3 separate regions of the Homo sapiens genome follow, and all the other regions are linked to region 1. The links are contacts of gene promoters, found by promoter capture Hi-C in human tissues and cell types (Jung and others, 2019). All regions are on one chromosome and are shown on one strand. Each heading gives the region's core, a stretch centred on a gene start or on the middle of the fragment in contact. The rest is flanking DNA. Distances are from core to core; before and after follow the strand shown.

The links. The method cuts DNA at HindIII sites, captures the fragments that hold promoters and counts their contacts. A contact is called where the count stands out against the background at its distance.
Region 2: a fragment that was not itself captured here is called in contact with the fragment with the promoter of OCIAD2 in region 1 in 2 of the 25 tissues and cell types used here (heart left ventricle and lymphoblastoid cells).
Region 3: a fragment that was not itself captured here is called in contact with the fragment with the promoter of OCIAD2 in region 1 in 2 of the 25 tissues and cell types used here (hippocampus and lymphoblastoid cells).

What each region holds. Positions count from the first base shown.
Region 1 is chr4:48,903,820-48,908,106 of GRCh38, forward strand. It overlaps OCIAD2 (OCIA domain containing 2), which reads right to left and starts at 2,955. Exons shown (of 7, transcript NM_001014446.3): 1 at 2,839-2,955; 2 at 665-792. The coding sequence starts at 730. RefSeq lists a silencer at 2,633-2,892 and an enhancer at 3,183-3,262. The HindIII fragment of the contact is 7,902 bases long and covers 1,033-4,287 here.
Region 2 is chr4:48,741,998-48,745,912 of GRCh38, forward strand. The region is part of intron 1 of FRYL (FRY like transcription coactivator); the gene reads right to left. Among named protein-coding and RNA genes, the nearest start is that of FRYL, 36 kb to the right of the region's middle. The HindIII fragment of the contact is 6,767 bases long and covers 1-3,915 here.
Region 3 is chr4:48,724,626-48,728,552 of GRCh38, forward strand. The region is part of intron 1 of FRYL (FRY like transcription coactivator); the gene reads right to left. Among named protein-coding and RNA genes, the nearest start is that of FRYL, 54 kb to the right of the region's middle. The HindIII fragment of the contact is 3,725 bases long and covers 48-3,772 here.

The DNA.
Region 1 (4,287 bases), core at 1,705-4,204:
TATTTTTAGTAGAGATGGGATTTCACTATGTTGGCCAGGATGGTCTCGATCTCTTGACCTCGTGATCCACCCGCCTCGGCCTCCCAAAGTGCTGGGATTACAGGCGTGAGCCACCGCGCCCAGCCAAGAAAGAGTTTTGTAAATAAAATTTTAAATTTTAAATTTTAAATTTCAGCTTCTTTTCAAAGCAGCTGAAAACACACTTTCCTTCCCCATCCTATTTTCCCTAAGCCCATCCAACAAAGTGCCAGACTGAAAAAAATAAGATGACTGGTTAAAGTTGAAATTTAATAAAAATCCTATGATATATATTTTTTCAGATGGCAGGTCCTGCAATTAAAAGTATACCTGACCAGGCATGGTGGCTCACGCCTGTAATCCCAGCACTTTGGCAGGCCTAGATAGGAGGATTAATTGAGGCCAGGTGTTTGAGACCAGCTTGGGCAATATAGTGAGACCTCATGTCTAACCACAAAAAAAATTAGCCAGGCATGTGGGCCTGCACCTGTCATCCCAGTTAAGTGAGAAGCTCAAGTAGGAGGATCACTTAATCCAGCAGTTCGAGACTGCAGTGAGCCATGACTGCACCACTGCACTCCAGTCTGGGTGACAGTGTGAGATCGTGTCTCAATCAATGAATCGATCAATAAATATAAAAGTATACCTGCTTGCTTGGTGGTGGAAAATGGGCATCTTTATCTTGGTTTCCACGAGCAGACGCTGAAGCCATGATGACTTTGTGCTTGCTCTCCTTCCAGTTGTTTATCCTCTGCTTACTCCTTGACCCAGTGTCTAAGGAAGGTAGAAGAGAATCACTATGCCATGACTAAATGTTTGCATCAAGCTTAAAAGCATCCTGAGGATCCACTGGAGTTATTTGGAAAATGTGTTTTTCCTTTTGTCATTAGTCCATCTGCAAACTCAACTTCCAGTGCTCCTCTTCCACCAGCACACATACATGCACTCACTAATGGGGACAGATCAGATTTAGAATAGAGTGGAAATACCACACTGTGCACTGAGTGTCGATTATGTGCCAGGCCAGGGGATATGAAGAAGGATAAGACAAGATCACCGCTGTGAAGGAATTCACAGTCCAAAAGGGGAGATAGACAAGTCAACAGTTACACAACATGAAAAGTATGCATGGGATGCTAAGGAAGAAAAGAAAGCAGGGTCCATTCCATCTAGTCATGTCACAAAGGAACTAGGACTCCTAAGCTTTCAGGAGGATCTGTGGAGGGTAGATGGACTCTGGGGCAGGAGGACCAGGTTGGAAGGTGGTACACTAGTCCAGACAAGGAGTTACAGGGACGTGAACAAAGACCCTGGTGGGAATTTAGCATCTTTGATAGAGATGCTAAATTTGGGTTTGGAAATGTTGGATTTGGGTGCCTGTGGGGGCAAACAGTGGAATTAGCCACTGTTAATATTTGACGATTTGGGTCTAGAGTTCCAGAACAGGGGTAGGCTAGAGAGATGAAGTTGGGAGCTGCCATCATAGAGATGAGAGTTAAAGCAGGGAACTTTAATAAATGTGTCTAAAAACAGTACTGGAGAATATGAACACTGAGCCCAAGGGAATATCGAAAAGAGAAGAAAGATTAAAAAAAAAAAAGCAGGCCAAGGAAATGACTGAGAAGGAATAGCTGATACAGAGGGGAGGGAATTTCTGAAGGAGGGAGTGAATCATCAACACCATCACATGGCTTAGAAAAGTGGACCCTGGATTTGGCAATGATGGACATAATCCAGGTGGACTTTGAGCCTCCTCCTGCCCCCAGTGGCCACTGCATTCTGCAGCCCTGAACTCTACCTCTACCTCTGCTTTTCTTCTGCAAAATGAACCTCTTATATACAATTCTGTTTCCTACATCAGTTACTAAACTTTGAGGCATTTGAGCCAAGGGGACCCGTACTCGCACCAAGTTTCATCACAGGTGTCTAATGTGATTACAGGGGCAGCACGGTGCCCTGCACGGGAAAGTACTGGGGTCAGAGAGACCAGAGTTCAAATCGTGACTCTTTACCCCTGCGATCCCTTTGGTGCAAATGACTTAATCCGTCTCTGCCTCAGCTTTCTCCACTGTTAATTGGGCATAATGGACACAACAATGGTGAGGGGCTCTTGCAGGAATGAAGACTAGGATGAGGATGAGGATGAGGGATACGTCCATAAAGCCCCTGCACACCTTCCATTTCCTGAGCACTCCCAGGAAGTCTTTGCTGACCACGCCAAATTAGATTATCTTTGCTTAGCCATTAGGCCGCTGCCCTATATTGGGAGGCAAATATACCTCTCAGCTTCGGTGGCCAGGTCCCCTGGCACCCACTTAGTCCTCAGTCTGCACCTAAAAGCAAGCCTTCCGAGGGTCTTGCCTTGCAGGTGTAGCTCCCACCCCCCACGCTGGGGTGGTCCGGGGACCCTCTGTTTCCTCAGTGGTGGGGAAGGGACCCGTGGGTTCGTGGGTGCTGACCGACGAATGTGCGGAGGAGGGCGCGCCCCAGCATGGGGGGCGGGGGTGCTTCTTAGGATGGCTTGGAGGGGGGCGCCTGCAGGGCTGGACGGCGGACGGGGGACACTGCACTTTCTGATGCGGTCGGGGAAGCCGGGAGTCAGCCTACTGGAGTCCGCTGCCATCCCTGGCCAGAAGCAGCCAGCGCCACCCCAAGCTCCCCAGCCCCTCGCCCGTGCCGGGGCCGCCGGGGTCCGAGTTAGGGGAGAGTGGGGGGCGGCCACCGCTGCACCGCGCGGCCTTCGAAGGACTGCCCTGCGGCGCCGCGTTCCCCCGAGGCCACCCCCTCCCGCCGTCAACACTCCCCGGGGCGGGGGCTCACCTGTGTGGTCTGGGTCGCCTCCGAGGCCGAGTCCCTCGTTGCCAAGCCCAGCAGGCCTCGCTCCCCCGTGACTGCACCGCCGGCCCGCTCCAGCTTCCCGAGTACCCCACCTGTCTCCCCGGCTTCCTTCCGGCCCTTTGTGTTTTCTTCTCTTGCTCCGCCCCCTCGCCTGCCCGCTAAGCACTTAAGCTGGTGAAGTCACCCTACTGCCACCTGGCAGTCACTTTCGCTGTTGGTGGCAACCCAGGCTGGAACCCAGCTCTTGCCGGAACCCCTGCCCCATCCTTGAGGCTTGTCCCGACACCGAGTAGGTTCTAGTTCCTTTGTGCCTTCCAAATGACTCCCTTCCTCCAGCAATCACAGCCGCAACAGCCATGTATTGCGCCCCCGCCCTAGGCCAGGCGTGGGCATCACCTTTGCACTCCTTTCTGCAGCCGTGTGTGGTGCCCACTGTGACCTGCACTTCACAGACGGGTCATCTGAGTTGTGCAGGCCACTAAGGGAGCCTGGAGTCAACCCCAGGCCTGCTTGGCTCCCAGGCCTTCTCTTTCCATTGCTCTTTGTCGGTCCCCTGCTGCCTCCTGTCCCTCCCCAACTCTGACTTGTGGAGGGAAGCCTTTGACATGTGGGGGTACCTTTAATACCGATATCACTTGTTACCGGAGAGGGGTCCCGATCCAGACCCCAAGCGAGGGTTCTTGGACTTCTCGCAAGAAAGAATTCGGGGTGAGTCCGTAGAGTGAGAGCAAGTTTATTAAGGAAGTATAGAAAACAGGCCGGGTGCGGTGGCTCACGCCCATAATCCCAACACTTTGGGAGGCAAAGGCAGGCAGATCACTTGAGCTCAGGAGTTCAGACCAGCCTGGCCAACATGGTGAAACACTCTCTCTACTAAAAATACGAAAAGTTAGCCAGGCATGGTGCTCTATGCCTGTAATCCCAGCTACTCGGGAGGCTGAGGCAGGAGAATCGCTTGAACTCCGGAGGCAGAGGTTGCAGTGAGCCGAGATTGCGCCACTGCACTCCAGCTTGGGCGACAGAGCCAGACTCTGTCTCAAAAAAAAAAAAAACAAAAAAAAAACAAAAAACAAGAAGAACAACAACAAAAAAGAATGGCTACTCCACTGGCAGAGCAGCTGTGTGGGCTGCTTAGCTAATTATACTGGTAGTTATTTCTTGATTCTATGCTAAACAAGGGGTGGATTATTCATGAATTTTCCAGGAAAAGGGTGGGCAATTCCCGGAACTGAGGGTTCCTTCACTTTTTAGACCATATAGGGTAACTTTCTGACGTTGCCATGGCACTTGTAAACTGTCATGGCCCTGGTGGGAGGGTCTTTTATCAGGCTAATGCATTAAAATTAGCATTTAATGAGTAATGAGGACGACCAGAGGTCACTTTCATGACCATCTTGATTTTGGTGGGTCTTGGCTGGCTTCTTTACTGAG
Region 2 (3,915 bases), core at 1,070-3,569, 160 kb before region 1:
CTAATGTAAACTATGGACTCTGGGTAACAATGATGTATCAATATAGCTTCATTAATTGTAGCAAATGTACCCCCCTGGAGGGGTATGTTGACAATGGAGGCTATGCATGTGTGGGAGCAGGAAGGAAACAGGAAGTCTCTGTACCCTCCTCTCAATTTTGCTGTGAACCTGAAACTACTCTGAAAAGTTGTCTTTTTTCAATGAGAAAGAATTTTTTTTACTTTATATGTTGTGCACCTTTTAAAGTCTGACGTTAATTTTTAGTAGCATGAAGTTTTACTTAACACAATTTGGAGTCTTCATTTTACTTAACCAATTAGCACATAAAATGCTGTTGACCTTGAAACTGTTCCCTCATTTGGCTTCCAGGACATCACATTGTGTAAGTTTTCCTCCACTGGCCAGTCCTTCTCAATCTTCATTCCTAGTTCTTACTCTCCCAACTTCATCATGTTGGATGCCACAGGACTCAGTCTCTGGACCTCTTTTCTATCTATACTCCAACTTATCCAGTCTCACAGCTCTGAATATCATCTTTATGGTATTTAAAATAGATTGATATTGTCAGTTATTCCCTACTGTAACAGACCAACTCAGGACTGCTATTCATTCTTAGTATTAGTCATGCACTAGCACAATCCAATTCAGGCATTATTCATGCCTGAACAAAATAAAGTGCTCTCAGGTACCATCACTAGCCCCCAAAAAACTCCAATCATTAAAACTACACATAATACCAATTGTTTACAGAAATTTCAATTTGCCAAGAGTGATTTTACTTGTCCCACCCTTTTGGAGGGTAATCTGAGATTTTTTGTTGTTTTTTTGTTTTTTGTTTTTTGAGACAGAGTTTGGCTGGAGTGCAATGGTACAATCTTGGCTCACTGCAACCTCCACTTCCTGGGGTCAAGTGATTCTCCTGCCTCAACCTCCCAAGTAGCTGGGATTACAGGTGTGCGCCACCACGCCTGGATAATTTTTTTTTTTTTTTTTTTTTTTTTACTAGAGACAGAGTTTCATCACGTCGATCAGGCTGGTCTTGAACTCCTGACCTCAAGTGATCCATCTGACTCAGCCTCCCAAAGTGCTGGGATTACAGGTGTGAGCCACCACACTCAGACAATCTGAGATGTTTAAAGGTAGAAAAGTAGAAAGAGAATTGAATTAGGGCAATGCTAATCTATTATGTAATCAAAGGCAGAAAAGTAGAAAGAACACTGAATTTACAAGCCTTTCACTAAATTCTTATCTAGGTGTTACTTTTCCTAGAAAACCACGTCACACCTAAAAATCACAAATCCAGAATCAGAACTATAACAATTACAGGGGTTCAATAAGTTCAAAGAGGCTTAGAGATGACTTAGCTTGTTTTTTCAAGCTTTTTTGTTTAAATATCAAGCTTCCATATAATAATTCAAGAAAGGAAACCTGATCAAGTTGAACCTCTTGTTTAACAGATAGGGAAACTTACAGCCCAGAAATGTTTGCCCATGGATAAAGCTCTCACTGGTAATACCAAGACCAGAAAGTAATTCTCCTGTTCCCTAATTCAATGCTCTTTCTACTTTTCTACCTTTAAACATCTCAGTGAATACTTGTGTGATTAATTTTATGTGTCAACTTGGCTAGTCCATGGTACCCACATGTTTGGTCAAACATTATTCTAGATGTTTCTGTCCAGATATTTTTTATATGAGATTAACACTTAAATCAGTAGACTCTGAGTAAAGCAGATTACTCTCCAAAAGGGTGGGTTTCATCCAATCAGTTGAAGGCCCTGATGGAGAAAGACTGACCTTTTCAGAAGGGGGAATTCTGCTAGCTGACTGAATTACAACTCTTCCCTGGGTCTCCAGCCTACCCCGCAGATTTTTGACTTGTCAAGCCTCCACTATCACTTGGGCCAATTTTTAAAAATTTAACAATTTAACAACTCTCCCTTTCCCTGTCTTCCCACCACCCCCATATACATGTGTACATGTGTGTGCACTGCACACATACACATTTTTGGTTCTGTTTCTCTGCAGAACCCTAACACAACCTATGTGAGCATCTAGATGAATTTCTGTAATTAATAGGTCAGTAAATGTATTTACTAAGAATGTTAAGAAAGCCTGTGACCAAATATATAGAAATAGTACGAATTAGTAGGGGAGGGGGGTGATTGCTAATGGGTAAGAAATTTCTTTTTGGGGGTGATATAAATGGTCTAAAATTAGACATTGGTGATAGTTACACAACTCTGTAAAAATACTAAAATCCACTGGATTGTATACTTTGCAAAGGTGAATTTTATGGTATATGAATTACAGCTTAATAAAGCTATTATATATTGTTGAAGGAGGGGAAGGAGAGAGGAAGAAAAGAAGGAAAGAAAGCCAGTCAGCCTGTGAAACTAACAGGCATTATAAATGACAAGGAAAAAAATGTTAACTACTTCATAAATTAATATTTACTCTTTCAAAGTCACTGAGTTACACAGGGAACCCCAAAGAAATGTTAGAGAATGGAATCAGAGAAAACCAACAAATAGTTGCATATGCCTGATTTTTTTTCTTTTTCTTAAATCAAAGGCAGCAAAGCAGTTAAATAAATCCTGTGACATCTGAGAGATCAACTAAAAACTGCATTAAGGAGAAATGTCTCAGTTAACAGTGACATGTGAAACCAAACTACAGAACTAAAATCTTTCATTTGGGATAACTTTAACTGTTTTAAAAATCCTTCCCATACTTAGTCAAATCACAGGAATCATTTCAAACCACAAAAAGTTTCTATTGTATTTACCATATTTGCGCTATTTGCAAAGATTACAATGTTTATTATGAAATCCTCAATATCTCCCACCCATAATATAGTGTGAACTTAAGTGATAGGCACTCAATATGAAAAACAGACTTTAAAAAAAAGAATACAATATGAATAGTGCTTCTGTGTACAAAGAAGGCGGCAAAGGATAATAGATGTCCCAGTAAATTATGATTACATTGAGAAATTCAGTATAGCTAGAATAAATTGTGCATTTATAGGGATTGGCAAGAAATAAGGTCAAAAAGCTAGGCTGGAATTTGGATAGATAGTCCAAGAGGGCTTTTAATCAGGGGAGCAAAATCATCAGAATTGAGTTTTAGAAAGATATATACAGTGGCTGTTGGTGGGACTGTAAACTAGCTCAACTATTGTGGAAGACAGTGTGGCGACTCCTCAAGGATCTAGAACTAGAAATACCATTTGACCCAGCAATCCCATTACTGGGTATATACCCAAAGGATTATAAATCATGCTGCTATAAAGACACATGCACACGTATGTTTATTGCAGCACTATTCACAATAGCAAAGACGTGGAACCAACCCAAATGTCCATCAATGATAGACTGGATTAAGAAAATGTGGCACATATACACCGTGGAATACTATGCAGCCATAAAAAAGGATGAGTTCATGTCCTTTGTAGGGACATGGATGAACTGGAAACCATCATTCTCAGCAAACTTATCGCAAGGACAAAAAACCAAACACTGCATGTTCTCACTCATAGGTGGGAACTGAACAATGAGAACACTTGGACACAGGGTGGGGAACATCACACACCGGGGCCTGTTGTGGGGTGGGGGGAGTGGGGAAGGATAGCATTAGGAGATATACCTAATGTAAATGACGAGTTAATGGGTGCAGCACACCAACATGGCACATGTATACATATGTAACAAACCTGCACGTTGTGCACATGTACCCTAGAACTTAAATAATAATAATAATAAAAGAAAGATATATACAGTGGCAGATACTAAAGGAAGAAAGACTTAAGAGAGGACAATAATTATCTAGGTGAGAAATTATAAAGGCCTGTCATAGGACAGTGACTATGAAATTGAAAAGGAAGGAAAACAGATTGAGACATTTAGAAGATGAT
Region 3 (3,927 bases), core at 660-3,159, 180 kb before region 1:
GTCACAGGAACTCAATAAACATTTGTTGATTAAACAAACGGTGCCCCTGATAATAAATGACAAGAATCAAAGAAAAACACCAATATGCATACTTTCAAACAGTTTATTCAATAAAATGCGTATTAACAACTTCATAAATTTCCATCGTGCTGCCTTTAGAGGACTTTAGAGTAGGGTAGAATAATAGAGAAAGGGAGGGAAACTTGTTGCCTTCAGCACATAAATCCAATATATTTGAATATCTTATTTTACATCCATGTTGAGATGGAACCTAATGTCTCCAAAAAATAACAAATTTGAAACTGTTTTTATTCCTGTTAAATACTGGAATCAAACTTTATCCAAACAAGCTTAAAAGGAGAAGCAATATTCAGATGATAACCTAAGAATACACATTTGACTTAGCTCCCTGTTCCATTATCCCTCAAGATGATTAAATCAATATAAAAGAGAAAATTCAAGCATCATCAGAAATTAGAAAGGGGTCTCACCCTTCATCTGAAACTTCTGAATTTTCACAAAGGTATTTTGACATGAGACAAAAGAGAATCAATCTGCCCTTACATCGGCCATATCTGCTGTGCTCCATCCACTCCAAGAGCCTGCCTGCCAGTCTACTCCACTAAGGTGAGGCCCAGAAGAAAATGGCCCACACTTAATTGCTCCCCTCCATCAAATTCTCTGCACTAAATACCAACTGCAATCTTCAACAGACTCTGTCTATCCTCTGAGAGAAAGAGAGAATACAATCTCGTGTCAAGCTCTGATACAGCCTGTGCTATTTATCAACACTAAATAAAGTGTACAACCGTATCCCCTTATCCAGGTTTCATTTTTCAAGGTTTCAGTTAACCTCAGTCGACAATATTAAATGGAAAATTTCAGAAATAAACAATTCATAAGTTTTAAATAGCACATCATTCTCAGTAGCGTGATGAAATGTCACGCTGTCCTGCTCCATCCTGCCCACCCGGGACATGAATTATCCCTTTGTCCAGTGTGTCCACATCCACACTGTCTATGCTACCCACCCGCTAGTCACTTAGGAGCAGTCTCAGTTATCAGATCCACTCTCGCAGTATCACAGTGCTTGTGTTCAAGTAATCTTTATTTTACTTAACAATGGTCCCAAAGCACAAGAGTAGTGATGCTGGCATATTGTTATAATTGTTCTATCTTATTAACTATTGTTGTTAATCTCTTACTGCGCCTTATTTAGGAATTAAACTTTATCAGAGGTATGTATGTATGGGAAAAAAACATAGTATACATAGGATTTGGCACTATCTGAGGTTTCAGGCTTCCACTGGGGTCTTGGAACACATCTACTGAGGATAAGGGGAAACTACTATATAGGAAAAAAAATCACCAATCTTATGACACGAATTGGCAAATACAGAGGACTGGTGAAATTCTCAGAATTTCAGAGATAATGACCTTGAAATTCTTAACAAAGATGTGAAAGGCAAAACTACTTGCTTTTCTAAGATATAAGTTCTTTTTGTGGGGGTAGGTGGTGAGGTGGTCAGGCTTACCAAACCAGCACCTGCAATCAGGGTTAGAGATGACAAGACACTTTCAAGAAAACACGAAGCAAGTAATCAGAAAAATAAAGATACAGAGGCCATTAACAACATTATCCATTTTCCCTTCTCCTTCTGGGCATAATGAAGAATTTTACTTTCCTTTTCCCTGTTGAAGTTAGACACAGTCATGTGACTTCTGTTGGTCAATGAAATGTGAGGAGAAGTGACCTATAAATTTCCACAGATGCGGGCGGGTGCAGTGGCTCATGCCTGTAATCCCAGCACTTTGGGAGGCCGAGGTGGGTGGATCACTTGAGATCAGGAATTTGAGACCAGCCTGGCCAACATGGTGAAACCCTGTCTCTACTAAAAATACAAAAATTAGCCAGGCATGGTGGCGTATGCCTGTAATCCCAGCTACTAGTGAGGCTGAGGCATGAGAATTGCTTGAACCCGGGAAGCAGAGGTTGCAGTGAGCCGAGATCATGCCACAGCACTCCAGTCTGGGCGACAGAGCGAGACTCCATCTCCAAAACAAACAAACAAACAAACAAAAAACTTCCACAGATGCATTTAATTGTTGGGCTCTGAACCTCTCTCTTCTGCTGTCTCAGTAATTGATGACTCATAGTGCCTTTACAGGAAAGACAACTTTCCCTGAAAGGTACAAACTTGATATGAGTGAGAAATAATAATCTTTGTGTTTTAAGCGACTGATAATTGGAGGATTCTTTTCTTATTGCAGCATAAGCTAACCTACCTTGACTAGTATATTAGTTATTTGAAAATTCCAATAAAATTATCAAAATTCAGCAAATCAAGAAAATCTGACAGGGGCAGGTAGTTTAAGAGATGGACAGAAAAACATACAACTATGACATCAATAGTGAGAAATGGATTATAACTACAGAAATAAAGGTTTTTTTAATGGAATGTGCCTTTGGAATCAGTAATCTCATCTCAATTTTTAAAGATTTTTAAATAGCAGGCTACCTCTGCAAGGATGCACTAAAACTTATAATACTGTTTGCCTCCAGAAAGGAATACTGTATAGCAACTTAAAAAAAAATGGGAAGAAGAGACGTCTGGTTTCTGATCTGACCTGAAAGAAGCTTGGAAGTCATCACTCCAAAATAAGTAAAAAGCGAACAAATTGAAAAAACAACAACAACAACTAATCTTAGCTCCTTAAAAGAAATGAGGTCATAAGGCAAACCACTGCCCCACTGCCCCCCAAATTGGAGGGACATACAGAAGGATACAGAGAATCACAACTTACCATAGTAGAAACCCATGAGCAGAAGGTTGAGGGAACCAGTGCAAGGGAAGAAAAACCTGACCTGTAATTGACAAATTGTTGGAGGATCAGTGTAAGAAAGTCTGAGAGTCAAAAACTCCAGGGAACCCAGTCAGAAGGGGCCTATCGCACTTTTTCTGACTTTTACCTCCAGGAGCTTGACCTAAGTTCTCACAGTGAATATCAGAAAAATCCCCCCTACTTCCAAAAGAGAGGAAAAACAACCATTTTGAAATGCACCACAACATTCTGTTTTTAACAAGGCTTGCCCTCAGGAGAAACTATTTAGCCAGAGACTAACTTGCTAACTACCCCTAACTAACTTGGGGGTAGGTTAATACCTAATCCCAGTCAGCCTTAGCCTTCCATGTGGAGGAAAAGAAATACCTAACTCTAGGCAGTTCTAGCCTTCCATGTGGCAGACAGGAAATACCCAACTCTAGCCTACTCTTAACTATACTGTCCCACCTAAGGGAGTACTGAGAAGCACTTGTGAAGCTGATAATCCAGAGGCACAGACTCACTAAAAGACTGAGATCTAATCAGAGGACTATAGAAGACCTCCCCTTCCTCCACACCTTGCCACCACATTATAAAACCCTATATTAAACAGCTCCTTTTACACAGTACATCATGTCCAGCTACAAAGAAAAGATCACAAGGCATACTAAAAGGCAAATAATGTAGTTTGAAAAGACAGAGCAAGCATCGGAACAAGACTTAGATATGGCAAGACATTGGAATTATCAGATCAGGAACTGAAAACAACTCTGATTAACATGCTAAGAGCTCTAATCAATAAAGCAGATGACATAGCAAAAAATATATATATCTGAGATTGAAGATATCTCAATAATAACCTCAAAAACTGGAAAGCAAAGAGTAAAAAGAGTGGGGGAAAAAAAAACAGAGGACGAAACACAAAACTCAAGAACTGTGGGACAATTACAAAGAGTGTAACATGTGTGAAATGGGAGTACCAGAAGGAAAGGAGAGGAACAGAAGAAATACTTAAAATAATAATGACTGAGAATTTCCCCCAAATTAATGTCAGATATCAAACCAGATACCCAGGAAGTTAAGAGAACACCAAGCAGGAGAGAT